Linked DNA regions of Homo sapiens: all the other regions are linked to region 1. Evidence: promoter capture Hi-C in 16 types of primary human blood cells and fetal thymus (Javierre and others, 2016). All regions are on one chromosome and are shown on one strand. The core of a region is centred on a gene start or on the middle of the fragment in contact, and the rest is flanking DNA. Distances in the headings are between cores, read along the strand shown. Region 1 holds the start of UTP14C (UTP14C small subunit processome component). Region 2 overlaps INTS6 (integrator complex subunit 6). Region 3 overlaps INTS6 (integrator complex subunit 6). Region 4 overlaps INTS6 (integrator complex subunit 6). Region 5 has its middle 15 kb from the start of INTS6-AS1.

Region 1 (2,900 bases), core at 122-2,621:
TTGGTACCACCAGAGGGTGGGAAGCCTCTGACAGGCCAAGCAGCTCCTGTCTCCACCACATCCCTAGCATCCACCCAAGCGCTCAGCAGAGTGAATGCTTAGTAAGTTTCTATGGAAGGAAGCACAGGAGGTCAGATCCCATGCAACAGGTTGGGTCAACAAGTTCTTGCTTAATGTCTGGGCCTAGCACTACACTACTAACTAGGAGTAAAAAGAGTATAAGAGAAATTGAAGTCTTAGTTTAGGAAATGTCACTTTTATGTTATCCTCATTTCCCCTAACAACTAACAGTGTGAGGCACAAAGCGCTTGAGAAATATATGTGGACCCAAATTAAACACAAAGCAGTACTTGATTTTATAGCAAAATGTGTGCTTAACAGGTCAGAATAGAGATAGCAGTTTGTGCCAGAATAAACAAGAAAGGCTAAAGTGCAAGGAGATTTAAGTTGAAGACTTATGATGCAATCTGGCACAAAGAGGAGAGCCATTCCAATGGTGAGGGTAGAATCAATAAAAGACTAAAAGAGTTACTGTGAGAAGCCCCTATGCAAACAGTGGTTCTCAACTTTTGATGCATAACAGAATCACTTAAGCAGCATTATCAAAATACATCTACCTGGGCCTTGTCCAGAGATTCTCATTTGGCCATTCTGTAGGATTAGGGTAGGGCCCAGGAATCTGTACCAGTAAGTATGTAGTGGGGTTAGATGGAGAGAGAAAATGTTGCTGTTAAGAGCAGGGGCTATCTGGGTTAGAATCCGGGCTCTACCACTTACTGTGTAACTGAACTCGAGCAATTTCTAAACCTTCCTGTGCCTGAGTTTCTTTATTTATAAAATGGGAATAACAATAACACCTATCAAACGGGTTTAGAAAGGCTTAAATTAGATAATACATGTAAAAATCTCAACACAGTGGCCCACACACAGGAATTGGTCAATAAATACTAGCTGCTATTATTAACTACTATCTTACAAGGTCTCAAGTGAGGAAAGCACATTTGGTGGATGAGGGCAAGAGAATTAGGGCATGATGCAGATTTCCAGAGTATTATCATTTTATCAAAAGAACTTAAAATGTGTATCTCATGGCACCAAACAAGTTGTTTAAAGGCCAAACTCACCAATCCCAAAATGCTCGTTCCACATGGTATGCAGACCAATTGTTGCTTCAGACAAATAATTCTTTAATTCATCAAATGGAATGTTTATTTTAAATTCCACATATTCTTGAACTCCTAAATCCTCAGACAGCCTTCTCAGTTGGTTTACCCTAAGTTCATCATCTTTGTTACGACAACCTCCAATGAGGACAAGTTTAAGCGAAGGAGGTGACTCAACCATCTTCTTATTCAGCAATTTAGCAAAGGCTCTGATCTGCAATGGATGATTCTTTTCCGGCCTAAACTGGCCAACAGAAACCAGCAAATGTCCTGGGGTCATCTTTTTCTCATGTAAGGGAATGTCCAGAAATGTCTGCACATCACAAGGTGGATAAACAATGTTAGTGCAATTCCCAACTTTCCATAGTGAGAGAATATGGTTTAGTGTCCAAGAAGAATTGACCATGACTACATCACTGCAAGAACCAACAAGTCCATAAATAAAAGCAAATAAATAGTAGTAGATGAGCTTTACTTTGCTGAGAAAAGGATTCCTGGTAATGAAGGCTGCATTATTAAATCCAATATTTTGATTCTTCACTACAGAGAGCATGTCGGTGCTGATAGTAGGATAATGAACATAGCTTCCAACTTGGCAACCCCCTATATACTTAAACAGAGGAAGCGTAAAAGCGTATCCCATTGAATCAATGTAAACATCAGGAACACACTGCATTAGAGCTTCCCAGCCAAGAAAAATGGATCCTAGACTTTGGCCCAGCAGTGTGAAGTGAGGATACAGTGAATCTTCCACAAGATAGCGTTTCCTTAAAAAAACAAACTGCACTGGGTGAATTAATCTGATGTTAAATCTTCTGAAAGCACCTTCTAGTATCTGTTGACCGTTGACATTAACATCGCCGGTATAAACAACATAAACTGCTTCAGGATACCTAAAATAGAATGTAATGGTTAAGAATATATTAAGTTACAAAAATTAGCCAGACACGGTGGCACGCACCTGTAATCCCAGCTACTCAGGAGGCTGAGGCAGGAGAATCGCTTGAACCCAGGAGGCGGAGGTTGCAGTGAGCCGTGATCATGCCACCGAACTCCAGCCTGGGTGACAGAGTGAGACTCCATCTCAAAAAAAAAAAAAAAAAAAAGCCTGCTACCTACCCTGAGAGACTGAGAGCCGAGACTGCATCACTGCACTCCTGCCTGGGCAACAAGTGTGAAACTCCGTCTCAAAAAAACAAAAACAAAAACAAAAAAAAGAATATATTAGGTTAAAATCAAGCAAAAAGTTGTAGATAACTATTTTCTTACAGTTATAAAGAAGATTTGATTTTTTTTTTTTTTTTGGAGACAGTTTCACTCTTGTTGCCCAGGCTGGAGTGCAATGGCGCCATCTTGGCTGACAATCTCTGCCTCCCGGGTTCAAGTGCTTCTCCCGCCTCAGCCTCCCGAGTAGCTGGAATTACAGACATGCACCACCACGCCCGGCTAATTTTGTATTTTTAGTAGAGTCAGGGTTTCTCCATGTTGGTCATACTAAAAATGATGTTTTCTACATTTTTTATTGAATTAGAAGTACAGTCCTTCAAATGAGACCATGACTTCTAGTTCTTTGCTATTTCCTCCACTGAGGGTTTCACACAGAACAGGCATCAACAGTAAGTGTTGATTTATGAATGAGATGGTCTAAAGAAATACTAAAAAGTTTTGACAGTGTTCTTAGTAAAAAAAATGGTAATAAAATACTATAAACAAGAATTAAGATTCAACAAACCTGTC
Region 2 (2,900 bases), core at 234-2,733, 620 kb after region 1:
ATAGTTTGTGCCCTTACTTTGAGAGAAATAATTCATTTAGAATTTCTGTGTATGATGGGAGGAAAGTGTTGAGGTTTATTTTTGACATATGGATAATTAATTGTATCAGCATTTTTATTGGAGAGATTATCATTTCCTCATTGCTGAAGCATCTTTATTGAGTCAATTAGCCATGTTTTTGTGTGGCTGTTTCTGGACTTTCTATTCTGTTTTGTTGATAACCTGTGTCTTCGGCAATACAACATGGTGTCAACTACTGTGGTTTTATAACGAGTTTTGAAATCATTTAGTTAAGTCTCCAACTTTGTTTTTATCCAAATTGCTTTGTTTATTCTAGGTCCTTTGAGTTTACATGTAAATTTAGAATCAGGTTTATTAGTTTTTATAAGAAAGCTTACTGCAATTTTTATTGGAATTACATTGAATCTATAAATCAGTTTGAGGGAAAAATGACACTTTTTACCTTATTGGCTATTCTGATCCATGAGCATGGCATATTTTTCAGATTTAAGTGTTTGATTTTTTCAGCAATATTTGTAGTTTTCAGATGGGAGTTTATACATATGTTGGGTATTTTATATATTTTGATGTTATTATTGATTGGTCTTTTTACTTTCAACTTCTGATGATTTGTTGTTAGTACATAAACAGTTGATTTTTTTGCATCTTTACCTGGTATCCTGTGACCTTTCTAAATTTTCTTGTTACCTAGTAGCTTTTCTAGATTCCTTGAAGCTTTTTACGTACAAAATCATCTTGTCTGAATATAGACAGGTACACTTCTTCCTTTCCAAATCTGTCTGCCTTTTATTTCTTTTTCTTGCTTCAATGTACTGGTGGAAGTAGTGAGAATGGACATTGTTGTCTTGTCTTGAAATCTAGAAGCTTAACATTAATTTGTTAACATTAACATTTAATTTTAAGGAACACCAATTGTTCCTTAAAATTAAAAAAAATACTACCTATGATGAATTAGCATTGTAACAAAAAAAATACAAATAATAAATTACCTAACCTATATCAGACAGCACAAATAAAGGCAGTTGACATTGCCAAATTTCTGAGAAAACAAATAAAACTATCAAAGCTATGAGATGGTATCATAACTGTTTCACTGACTATGAAAAACTGTTACTGAGGAATCTAATATCTGTCCAAAGCCAACATTTAAAAGATAAGTGTTATATTGGCTGGTAGTTTGTAATTGAAATAAGAATATAAATATTCTCCTAGAAAGTACGAATGAAATACTCAGAGTCTTTAGTATACCTTGAAGTTATACTATTATTATTATTATTATTATTATTATTATTATTATTATTATTATTATTATTTGAGACGGATTCTCACTCTGTCACCCAGGCTGGAGTGCAGTGGTGCAATCTCGGCTCACTACAACCTCTGCCTCCACTGTGCCCAGCTGAAATTACATTTTTCAAACTCATGGTGCTAAAAAGGTCAAGATCATTAAGCACACGTTATAAAATATGACCCTGATGCTCTGCTTAACTTCTAATGGCCAAAAGGAATTTAATTAGTAGACTTAGTCTGGGGAAGGCGTAGACTCAAACTCTGTGATACTCAAATGCTATGGAGCTATGATATGGAAGAAGAAAGGGATATGCAGCTGCCTAGATAATTTTATGCTATAGTTGGAAAAATTTTTATGCACATTTAATGTTAAATTTGGGGAAGCAAAGAAATATATTAAAGTGATGATACACCTTAGAATTTAAGTTATAGGTTTTAGGTTTGTTGGAGGATTAAATAAGATGATTAAAGCAAGGTAACTCATTGAAACCTTGTCACATTATAAGCATTCAGTAAATGATGAATTATCAGTCTCTTAACTTGTGTGATTATGGGCAATATTTGGTGTGGTCAAAAGGTCTTTAAGTTTTTTTCCTACTTCTTTGAGTTATCAAGAAAGAGATTATTATTTTTTAATACAACCTAGTTTCACAAATAGGGACATACATAACATACTACAGAAGGTTTCTGTTGATGTTTTTGTGCTTGAGGCATTAAGTGCTCTCAGTTACCTGGAAAAATAATGGCTCTCCAAAATGATTCAAAGCTTTTCCTTTATAATTTTTAAGATTCCTGGCCAATGTGCTTTAAATGAACTTTCTGACTTATTAATAAAACTCAATGACCGGGTGCAGTGGCTCTTGCCTGTAATCCCAGCACTTTGGGACACCAAGGAGGGTGGATCACCTGAGGTCAGGAGTTCAAGACCAGCCTGGCTAACATAGTGAAACCCCGTCTCTACTAAAAATACAAAAAGTTAGCTGGGCATGGTGGCAGGCGCCTGTAATCCCAGCTACTCGGGAGGCTGAGGAAGGAGAATCACTTGAACCTGGGAGGCAGAGGTTGCAGTGAGTCGAGATTGCACCACTGCACTCCAGCCTGGGCAACAAGAGCGAAACTCCATTTCAAAAAAAAAAAAAACCCATCTCAATGGTTTATTCTAGTCTAAATGTTTTATGGTAGATTCTGAATAATTTGGGCTATTATTTAACAATTATCTATAGTTATACTTTAGCATTGAAAATGTTATTGTACTTTTTTTTTTTTTTTTGAGACCGAGTCTCACTCTGTTGCCCAGGCTGGAGTGCAGTGGCACGATCTTGGCTCACTGCAACCTCTGCCTCTTGGGTTCAAGCGATTCTCCAGCCTCAGCCTCCCGAGTAGCTGGGATTACAGGCGTGTGCCACCATGTCTGGCTAATTTTTGTATTTTTAGTACAGACGAGCTTTTGCTGTGTTGGCCAGACTGGTCTCAAACTCCTGGCCTCAAGTCCCAAATTGCTGGGATTTAGGCATGAACCACTATGCCTGGCCATACCGTACAGAAACACTCTTATGGTGTATGTATGCGTCTATTTGGAACTTAGTTTT
Region 3 (2,900 bases), core at 146-2,645, 600 kb after region 1:
CCAGCCTGGGCAACAGAGCAAGACTCCGTCTCAAAAAAAAAAAAAAAAGAAAAAAAAAGTCATTTTAAATTTGAAGCTCTCAAATTAATTTTTCTTCTTAATAGGACACATAATAGTTAACAGCTTCATTCAACTTTATATATTAATAAATTAAAAGTCTTTTGAATGTTTGTTTTGTTTTTATCCATAATGATTTTGCTTGAGAAGTTATTTCTGTTTTCTGTTGTAAAGTATTCTTATGTGCGAGGTGATGCATTTGAGGTGCTGTCTACTGCCTTTGTAGAAATGCCCTTTGGGGTACAATGTATTTTGTTTCCATATGTCTGGATCTGTTTTGTTTGTAAAATTTGTTTTGTGGAGACCTCTTCTAGCTTAAAAATATCTTGAAATATACATGTGTATTGGAATTGCTCACCTTTCTTCCTATGTCTTTCCTTGGGAAGGATTTTGGAAAAATAGGGCAATGTGTTTATAACCTGAAACTACCTTGCTAGTAAGGTTAGGAAGATTTTCCTGTGGGCAGAGTTTTTACCTTTTAGTTCTATCTTTTACAATACTAGCATAGTATTGACAACAGAGCCTATATTTTTAAAAAGTATTGATTATAAACATTGGTGTATTGAATCTGGTAGTCATTGAGTTCAAAATTGATTACCGTTGCACCTTATTATCTGAGGTGGAAGGTTCATTTGTTTTAAAGCAAAAGTAAATTATTTTGAAGTTGGAACATAGGCCGGTGAGTTGTTTCAAGGTTAGGAATGTCTTTGATTCCCTGCGTGTTTTCTTCTTAATGTACCAACGAGACTCTCGTTGGAGCAATGAGAAAGTTATCCTAGATTAATTTTTGCTAAATGTTGTGAGATATTGTGAAATATTCTAGCCTAAATAATTATGGGATTTGTTTTAAGGAGCTTTTCAATTCATAGAAAAGCATAAAGATGCTTTTTGTATTGTTCTTCTGTGTTTGTATTGTGCACGTGCATGAATGCTAGATATGATCTGTATTCTGGTTCCTACTAGGGAATAACAATTTTGCCTTTATATCACTGTCTTTTCACATCTCTCAACCTTTGCCTCTGGCAGAACTTGATTCTTTTTTAGATTTATTCAGTGTATGAATGTGTCATTAATTTCCACATTAGAGATATGTGTACATAATTCCTGTTTGGCTTGTGGCTGGTGTTGGTATGACCTATTACTTTTTATGGAGTTGTATAATTCCACCTGTATGATATCCTTTGCTTAAGAGTCATGTTATCCAACATTGTATATTATATCTGTTCTGTTGGTGCTGTTTTTCAGGAGTAAATGTTCTTGCTGCTTTAAAATCATCCTTATATCATATGAGGAAATATAGAACTCATTTAGTCTTATATTTTACAAATGAGAAAATTGAGATCCAGGGAGTCAGAGTGATTTGCTTAGGTTATAACATTTGTTACTGCCAAAATCTAGATTAGAATTTATCAATTCCAAAGACATTCCAGCACCTCCAGACCAGTGCTTTCTTCCTGATACGGCTGCTGCCTTTTTGCTTGATTCTAAATTTGTGTGTTCTTAAAATTTACCTTCTATTTATCTGATTTCTTATTTGTCTACTTCAGCTTTCTATGTAAGTGTCTTTTAGGTATTCTGTTCTTATTCAGTGTTCCATGAAAAACTATTATGACCAGAGCATTTCTAGGCAATGAGGATAACAAAGATAAACAGGACATATCTGGTTCTTAATATTTAAGTTCACAGTGTTATGGGGGAAATCACCTATTAAATGGTTTTATGAATGATAAAATAAGGATACATACTAAGTGTGTGGGAGTACTAAAGCAGGGGAAGGGTTAATATTACCTTTCGTGTGTCAAATCTTGTATAATGTGCATTTTTATAGTATAATTTCATTTTTGAATGACTGAATTCAAGGATCTTATGGATGATTTGGCATAGGGTGTGGCTCCTACCTTGTATCTGTGAATTTTAGGAAGAAGCCCAGTGTAAAGTTGTTTTGAGCCTAGAAAATAGTTTTCCTAGCGGCAGGAAAAATGTGGTGCCATATTGTCTCTTGACCTGGCTAAGTATGTATAGGCCCAAATGAACCAATTTCTTATAACTTGTTTGTCAGAAAAATGTAGGAATACTGTTCTCTGGGACAGCTCGTCACTTAGCAATGTGTTATGAGTTAGGAAAGAAAAGTAATAGATACATTATGAATGAAAATCTTGAGCTGTATATGATCATTTTACATTAATTTATGATTTCAATTATATCCTTGGGCCTCATTTAATAAAAGTCCAGGCCATTGTCTGAAGTGTCATGAATGTATTTCTAGTGTAGTCTTTTTGGATAACTGTCTAGGATTTCTGATGATTACTTGGATTGAATTTTATGTGTATATATTTGGCTTTTTTTTTAATGCAGCTATTTGATAAAACTGGTTGTAGCATTTTCACTTACGAGGAGTGTGTTTGATAGGACTTTGAATTCTGAAACACGATAAAACTATATTACTTACTTCCTTAGTAGTTACCGTTGATGTTGATAAACATACCTGTGTCCAGATACTCAGTACTGTTTGTCATGTTATATAACTGATATATCAAATGTTTTGGTAGAATCAACAAATTAGAGTTATTGAAAAGGATTTTCTTCTGATATCTGCAGATAATCCTCTCTAGTACTGCTTTGCAATGGAAAACTATTCTGTACTATGATTCCAGGAACACATGGCTAATGAATATTGCTCAATAGAGGAGCCCAGAAGAAATCCTGCCAGTACTTTCTTAGTGATGAATGACATTCCAGGATAGTGTAGCAGTTATTTTTCTCTTCCTTGAAAGTGCTAATAGTAGTATTGTCTTTCAAATATTGAGATTTCTATATGCTGACAAGTCCTTCTGCATCTCTTT
Region 4 (2,900 bases), core at 199-2,698, 580 kb after region 1:
TAGCTGGGATTACAGGCTCCCGCCACCACCCTCGGCTAATTTTTGTATTTTTGGTAGAGACGGGGTTTCGCCATGTTGGCCAGGCTGGTCTGAAACTCCTGACCTCAGGTGATCCGCCCACCTCGGCCTCCCAAAGTGCTGGGATTTACAGGCGTGAGCCACCGCCCCTGGCCATTATTGCATTCTTAATTAGAAATTGTTCAAAACAAATCTTAAATACAAAAGTCAAAAATAGGCCGGGTGCCATGGCTCACACCTGTAATCCCAACACTTTGGGAGGCTAAAGCAGGTGGATCACTTGAGGTCAGGAGTTTGAGACCAGCCTAGACAATGTGGTGAAACCCCATCTCTACTAAAAAAAAAAAAAAAAAAAAAAAAAAAAAAAATTAGCTGGGGGGTGGTGGCATGTGCCTGTAGTCCTAGCTACTCAGGACTCCTGGAGTCCTGGTTGGAGGATTGCTTGAACCCCGGAGGTGGAGGTTGCAGTGAGCTGAGATGGTGCCACTGCACTCCAACTTGGGCAATAGGCTGTCTCAAAAAAACAAAACAAAACAAAAACAAACAAAAAACCAAATAATATATTCTACTTTAAAGAGCATTTTACTTTCTTTCGATATAGGAGAATATCGATAATTATGTATTATATACAGCTGGAAATTAAAAGATCAGGAACAAATCTAATATTTGACATCATTGGACTTATTTGTGTATTTTGAATTAAGGTCATTTGTGGTCAAAATTAGTTAAAAGGATTGTTTATTTAGTCATGTTCATGTCATAGATTTCTACAAAGAGATTATATAGTATTTTATAGCTTGAAATGTTTCTCAAATATATAAAATGATTTTTGGCCATAATAACCTTGACTCAGATTTATACTCTACAATTAAATTAGTCTTGGTGGACTTTTCTTGTTTTTTGGGGCTTTTTAATTTTAAAAATGTTTAGATACAAAGTCTCTCTGTGTTACCCAGGCTGGTCTTGAACTCCTGGGCTCAAGCAGTCTTTCCACCACGCCTTCGGAGTAGCTGGGACTGCAGGCTCTTGCCATTGTACTCAGCTTAAAAAAGTAATTTCCTTATATAAACTTTATTTTTGTTTAGTCTTACTATTAGTCTATAAAAGTTTACCATGGTTGCCAGACTTTAAACAAAATACTAAATTTTTAAAAAATTTTGTTTTGGTTTGTATTTTCTGATCTCTAACATTTTTATTGAGATGTAACTTAAATAAACAAATCTGAAGTGTGAAGCTTAGTGAATTTTAAAATATACACTCTTAAAAAAATTGAACATTTGCATCTACTGACAAGTTTTCATTAAACTTTCTGTGTTTTATTATTATTTTCATAGGGCTTTAGAATGGAAGTGATTTTAGAAGTTTACTCAATTTTCCTCATTTTGTAGGTGAAGAAAAGGCATAGAAAGGTTCAGAGGCTTAATTTCTTCACATTTATGAAATATTTTTAAAAATTGTAATTGGTGATAGAACAGTTATGGAGATTTTATTAAGGATTTGTATATTATTTAATAACATTTTATTTAAATGTATAAGCAGTGGATCTGAGTTGCTTTCTTCAGTTTTGTGTATAGTTCTGTAATGCAGTATGATTTCTTTCAGTTCTTGTTTGAAAGCTAAGCTTTTCATTTTGTCTCTGTTACATTTAGTCTTTCTTGTAACATTCTATCTAAATACTGTTTGTTACAAAATTAGCTTTAGTTGGATTCCTTCCTCCCTTTGTTTGGCAGAAAGTAAATGAATTTAGGGCAGCGGTCCCCAGCCTCTTTGGCACCAGGCTGGTTTTGTGGAAGACAGTTTTTCCATGGATTGGTAGAGGTGGTTGGGATGGTTTCAGATGAAACTTTTCCACCTCAGGTCATCAGGCGTTAGAGTCTCATAGGAGCGCATAACCTAGACCCCTTGCATGCACAGTTCACAACAGGGTTTGTGCTCCTATGAGAATCTAATGCTGCTGCTGATCTAACAGGAGGCGGAGCCCCAACGGTAATGCTCACTTGCCCACTGCTCACCTTCTGCTGTGCCACCCATTCCTGATGGGGTCCAGGGGTTGGGGACCCCGATCTAGGGGATAAACCAGGAAAGACTTCTTAGAGGTAGTAGCATCTGAAGAATAAAAGTTTACTGAGAACCCAGAACCCTTGCAGGTTAGGGGGCAATGCAGAGTGAAGATCATGATCAATGGCCAGATGCGATGGTTCATGCCTAGTAATCCCAGCACTTTGGGAGGCTGAGGTGGGTGGATCACCTGAGGTCAGATGTTCGAGACCAGCCTGGCCAACATGGTGAAACTAAAAATACAAAAATTAGCTGGGCATGGTGGCGGGCGCCTGTAATCCCAGCTACAGGCACCCTCAGGAAGCTGAGGCAGGAAAATCGCTTGAACCCAGGAGGCAAAGGTTGCAGTGAGCTGAGATTGCGCCATTGCACTCCAGCCTGGGCGACAAGAACGAAACTTCATCTCAAAAAAAAAAAAAAATCATGGTCAAAAACATAGGAGAGGCTGTCCCTGTGGCTCACACCTGTAATCCCAGCACTTTGGGAGGTTGAAGAGGGAGGATCACTAGAGGCCAGGAGTTCAAGACCAGCCTGGCCAACCTGGTAAAACTCCATCTCTGCCAAAAACACAAATATTAGCCAGGCATGGTGGTGCACGCCTGCAATCCCAGCTACTCAGGTGGCTGAGGCAGGAGAGTCACTTGAACCTAGGAGGTGGAGGTTGCTGTGAGCCAAGATTGTGCGACTGCACTCCAGCCTGGGTGACAGAGTGGGAATCTGTCTCAAAAAAAAAAAAAAGGCTGGAGGTGGGGAGGCCTGGGGACGTATGGGATAGTTGACAGGATTTTATACTGTAATTACTTTAAGGCCTAGATTCTAATAAC
Region 5 (2,900 bases), core at 230-2,729, 560 kb after region 1:
TTCTCCTGTCTCAGCCTTCTGAGTACCTGAGACTAAAAGTGCACACCACTATGCCTGTCCATTTACTCGTTTTTAATACTAGAGAAGTGCACTCAACTATTTCTAAGATTCCTTACAGAGAAAACTATTAACATGCTGTACACATTGGCTTATCATGAAAAAACAATGATGATGACAACCTAACCTGCTCCTGAATGCATAATTCCTCATAATCTTGTGAATACAAGTGAGCCATAAATGTTCATGATACAAACTTTAGTATGTAAGAATCATATTCTCCCTAAGAGTTAGAGGAACAGTTTACGAAGATATGTAGTAATAGATGCAGTACTGAGAATTCACATGAAAGTGCTGAATGGAGTCACTAAAAGAACATGGACTCCAGTCTTTATTTTTGCTTTTCTAGATAGATTGTGCTTTTATTAAAAGAATGATCAAAAGTACCATACAAATACAACACAGGATATAGTGAAAGTTCCCTTATCCAACACTGATATTGTGATTGGTGAAGGGAAAAAGTCAATTTAAACAGAGAAATTTAAAAATGATACATACATATCTTTAATTTTAAATTTTAACTTAAACTACAAATGTATTTCATTTGCCAACAAAATATCTGTAAATTTCTACTCACTTTTTCGAGACTTTTGCAGTTGTTTTGCTTATACTTAATTTGCCAGTAATTTCTTTAGTGACTGACTTTTGTTTCATATTTCACTGGTTTACCTATTTAATTAATTAATTTCAATAACAAGTTTAATTGGTATAAGCAGGTTTGAGAAAAAGGCAACTGACTTCAGTAGCATAAAACTTGTAGTAGGAGCAGAGGTTCACAAATGTATCAGAGGGAATTCTACTAGTTTTGAGCTACAAGCATGTGTTAAAGAACAAGAGCCAGACATGGTGATTTGTACCTGTAGTCCAACTACAAGGGAGGCTGAGGCAAGAGAATCACTAGAGCCCAGGAGTTCGAGGCTGCAGTGAGCTGTGATCATGCCATTGCACCCAAGCCTGGGCGACAGAACAAGACCCTATCTCTAAAAAGAAAAAGTAAAGAAAGAAGGAACAAGGAGCATCAGTTAATCTGGCAAATTAAGTAGATGTAACGAGAACTCCTTATGTGCCTATCATCAGTGATAGATATTGCATAATAAGATGTTAAACTATTTTATTCACACTTTCTTTTAGAACATCGGTCTTTGGAGATTAGTGAACTGAATATTAAAATGACATTCTCACTAACGTCCCCTTTTATCCTTCCCATTTTCCTGTGAGCAAATTCCTGCCTTACATGATACTTTGTTGATGGTCTCCCTGACATCTTCCTTTATGCCTGTGTCTCCCTTGAATCCCGGTTCCTATAGTCATCACAAGGTTGGGAAACCTGTCCCTAACCCCCAATTCCCACAGGTGGGCCAACAATAAGCATCGTCATACTTACCCAGCATTCTGCCTCTGAATTCAGATCCAGGTTCTTGTTCCATGTTGCTTTGTGACCCTGGACTATGTTAATTCATGTTACTTAGTTTCCATTTCTTTTTCTGAAAAAGTAGGAACACTTAGCTTACAGGCGTGTTAGATTAAATGACCATGGGGAAGCTCTGACACAAGTAGACAGTGAAGTGTCCGTTTTCTTTAACGCCATTTCCTTAATACCAGTAATATTTTGCCTTTGCCTGTTACTTCCCATCACATTCCTGACACAGCGCTCTGAACCCTCACAGGCATGCTTGTTGAATCTCCTAGAGGTTGACCACCTGCTTGCCAGCGTGGCATCTCAGCCCATCAAGAGTCCAGATGACTTGCTTGCTTGTCCATATTATTCCCATAGCTACCAAAGCAATCTCCCTGAAGAACTTGGCTGGGTCTTTAGTCTCACTGGTTAGTGTGGGCAGCTGTCCACTTCTCACAGCTCCCTCTGCATACATCCTCTCCACTTCTGATTTCCTCTATAATTGTCATTCAACACACATTAAACATTTACTAAATACTGGTTATATTAGGGTTCTCCAGAGAAACAAAAGCAATGAAAGATAGATCTATCTATCGATCTATCTATCTATCTATCTATCTATCTATCTATCTATCTATCTGTCTGAGATTTATTATACGGAATTGACTCACATGATCATCGAGACTAAATCCCAAGATTTGAAGTTGAAAAACTGGAGACCAGGAGAGTCAGTGGCATAGTTCTAGACTCCCCTGAAGGCCTGAGAACCAGGAGAGCAGATGGTAAAGTTCCAATCTGAAGGCAAGTAGGCTCAAGACCTGAGAAGAGCCAGTATTACAGTTTGAGCCTGAAAAACACCAATGTTCCAGCTCAAAGGCAGTCAGGCAGAAGGAACTCTCTCTTACTTAGCCTTTTTGTTCTATTTAGCCCTCAACTGATTGCGTGAGGTCCACCCACATTAGGGATGGCAGTTTGCTTTACTCAGTCTATAGATTCAAATGTTAATTTCATCCAGAAACACCCTCATAGACAGACCAAGAATAATGTTTGAGCAAATACCTGGGTATCCTGTGATCCAGTCAAGTTGACACATAAAATTAACCATCACACTGGGAATTGTGCTAGTTACTTTGCTTGTATTCTTGTTATTATTTCTGGTCTCAGAGAAGTCATTGCTCCATCTTTCACATCCTAATGACCCCATCTATGAAGCTGACCCTGTCCTCTCCTGCTCCAGAGACCTGCCATACCAATTATACCTTTCTCACAGCCTCAGTTTTTCCTTGCTCTTTTTCTACCTAAAAACATATTAGAGTTTTTCCTTTATCTTTTTTTGTGCAAAAAGAGAAGTTATATATTCTCTGACTTCATTCACTACAACTCCTAGTGATCTAATTTACCTTATTTCTTCTGTATCTATATTCCACTAAAAAGACGTATAGGCCAG

What was found. Contacts are between HindIII fragments. The CHiCAGO score rates a contact against its expected background, and 5 or more counts as called.
Region 2: a contact is called between a fragment that was not itself captured here and the fragment with the promoter of UTP14C in region 1, in 1 of 17 cell types (non-activated CD4 T cells). The highest score is 5.0, in non-activated CD4 T cells.
Region 3: a contact is called between a fragment that was not itself captured here and the fragment with the promoter of UTP14C in region 1, in 1 of 17 cell types (neutrophils). The highest score is 7.5, in neutrophils.
Region 4: a contact is called between a fragment that was not itself captured here and the fragment with the promoter of UTP14C in region 1, in 1 of 17 cell types (naive CD4 T cells). The highest score is 5.1, in naive CD4 T cells.
Region 5: a contact is called between a fragment that was not itself captured here and the fragment with the promoter of UTP14C in region 1, in 1 of 17 cell types (neutrophils). The highest score is 5.8, in neutrophils.

Annotation. Positions count from the first base shown.
Region 1 is chr13:52,023,162-52,026,061 of GRCh38, reverse strand. UTP14C (UTP14C small subunit processome component) reads right to left here and starts at 1,371. Exons shown (of 2, transcript NM_021645.6): 1 at 1,125-1,371. It overlaps ALG11 (ALG11 alpha-1,2-mannosyltransferase), which reads right to left. Exons shown (of 4, transcript NM_001004127.3): 3 at 1,125-2,056. The HindIII fragment of the contact is 12,744 bases long and covers 1-2,900 here.
Region 2 is chr13:51,407,698-51,410,597 of GRCh38, reverse strand. All of the region lies in intron 4 of INTS6 (integrator complex subunit 6), which reads left to right. Among named protein-coding and RNA genes, the nearest start is that of INTS6, 44 kb to the left of the region's middle. The HindIII fragment of the contact is 1,192 bases long and covers 888-2,079 here.
Region 3 is chr13:51,425,475-51,428,374 of GRCh38, reverse strand. The region is part of intron 4 of INTS6 (integrator complex subunit 6); the gene reads left to right. Among named protein-coding and RNA genes, the nearest start is that of INTS6, 26 kb to the left of the region's middle. The HindIII fragment of the contact is 8,376 bases long and covers 1-2,900 here.
Region 4 is chr13:51,441,739-51,444,638 of GRCh38, reverse strand. All of the region lies in intron 3 of INTS6 (integrator complex subunit 6), which reads left to right. Among named protein-coding and RNA genes, the nearest start is that of INTS6, 9.8 kb to the left of the region's middle. The HindIII fragment of the contact is 387 bases long and covers 1,255-1,641 here.
Region 5 is chr13:51,466,909-51,469,808 of GRCh38, reverse strand. It overlaps the pseudogene RN7SL320P. Among named protein-coding and RNA genes, the nearest start is that of INTS6-AS1, 15 kb to the right of the region's middle. The HindIII fragment of the contact is 4,257 bases long and covers 1-2,900 here.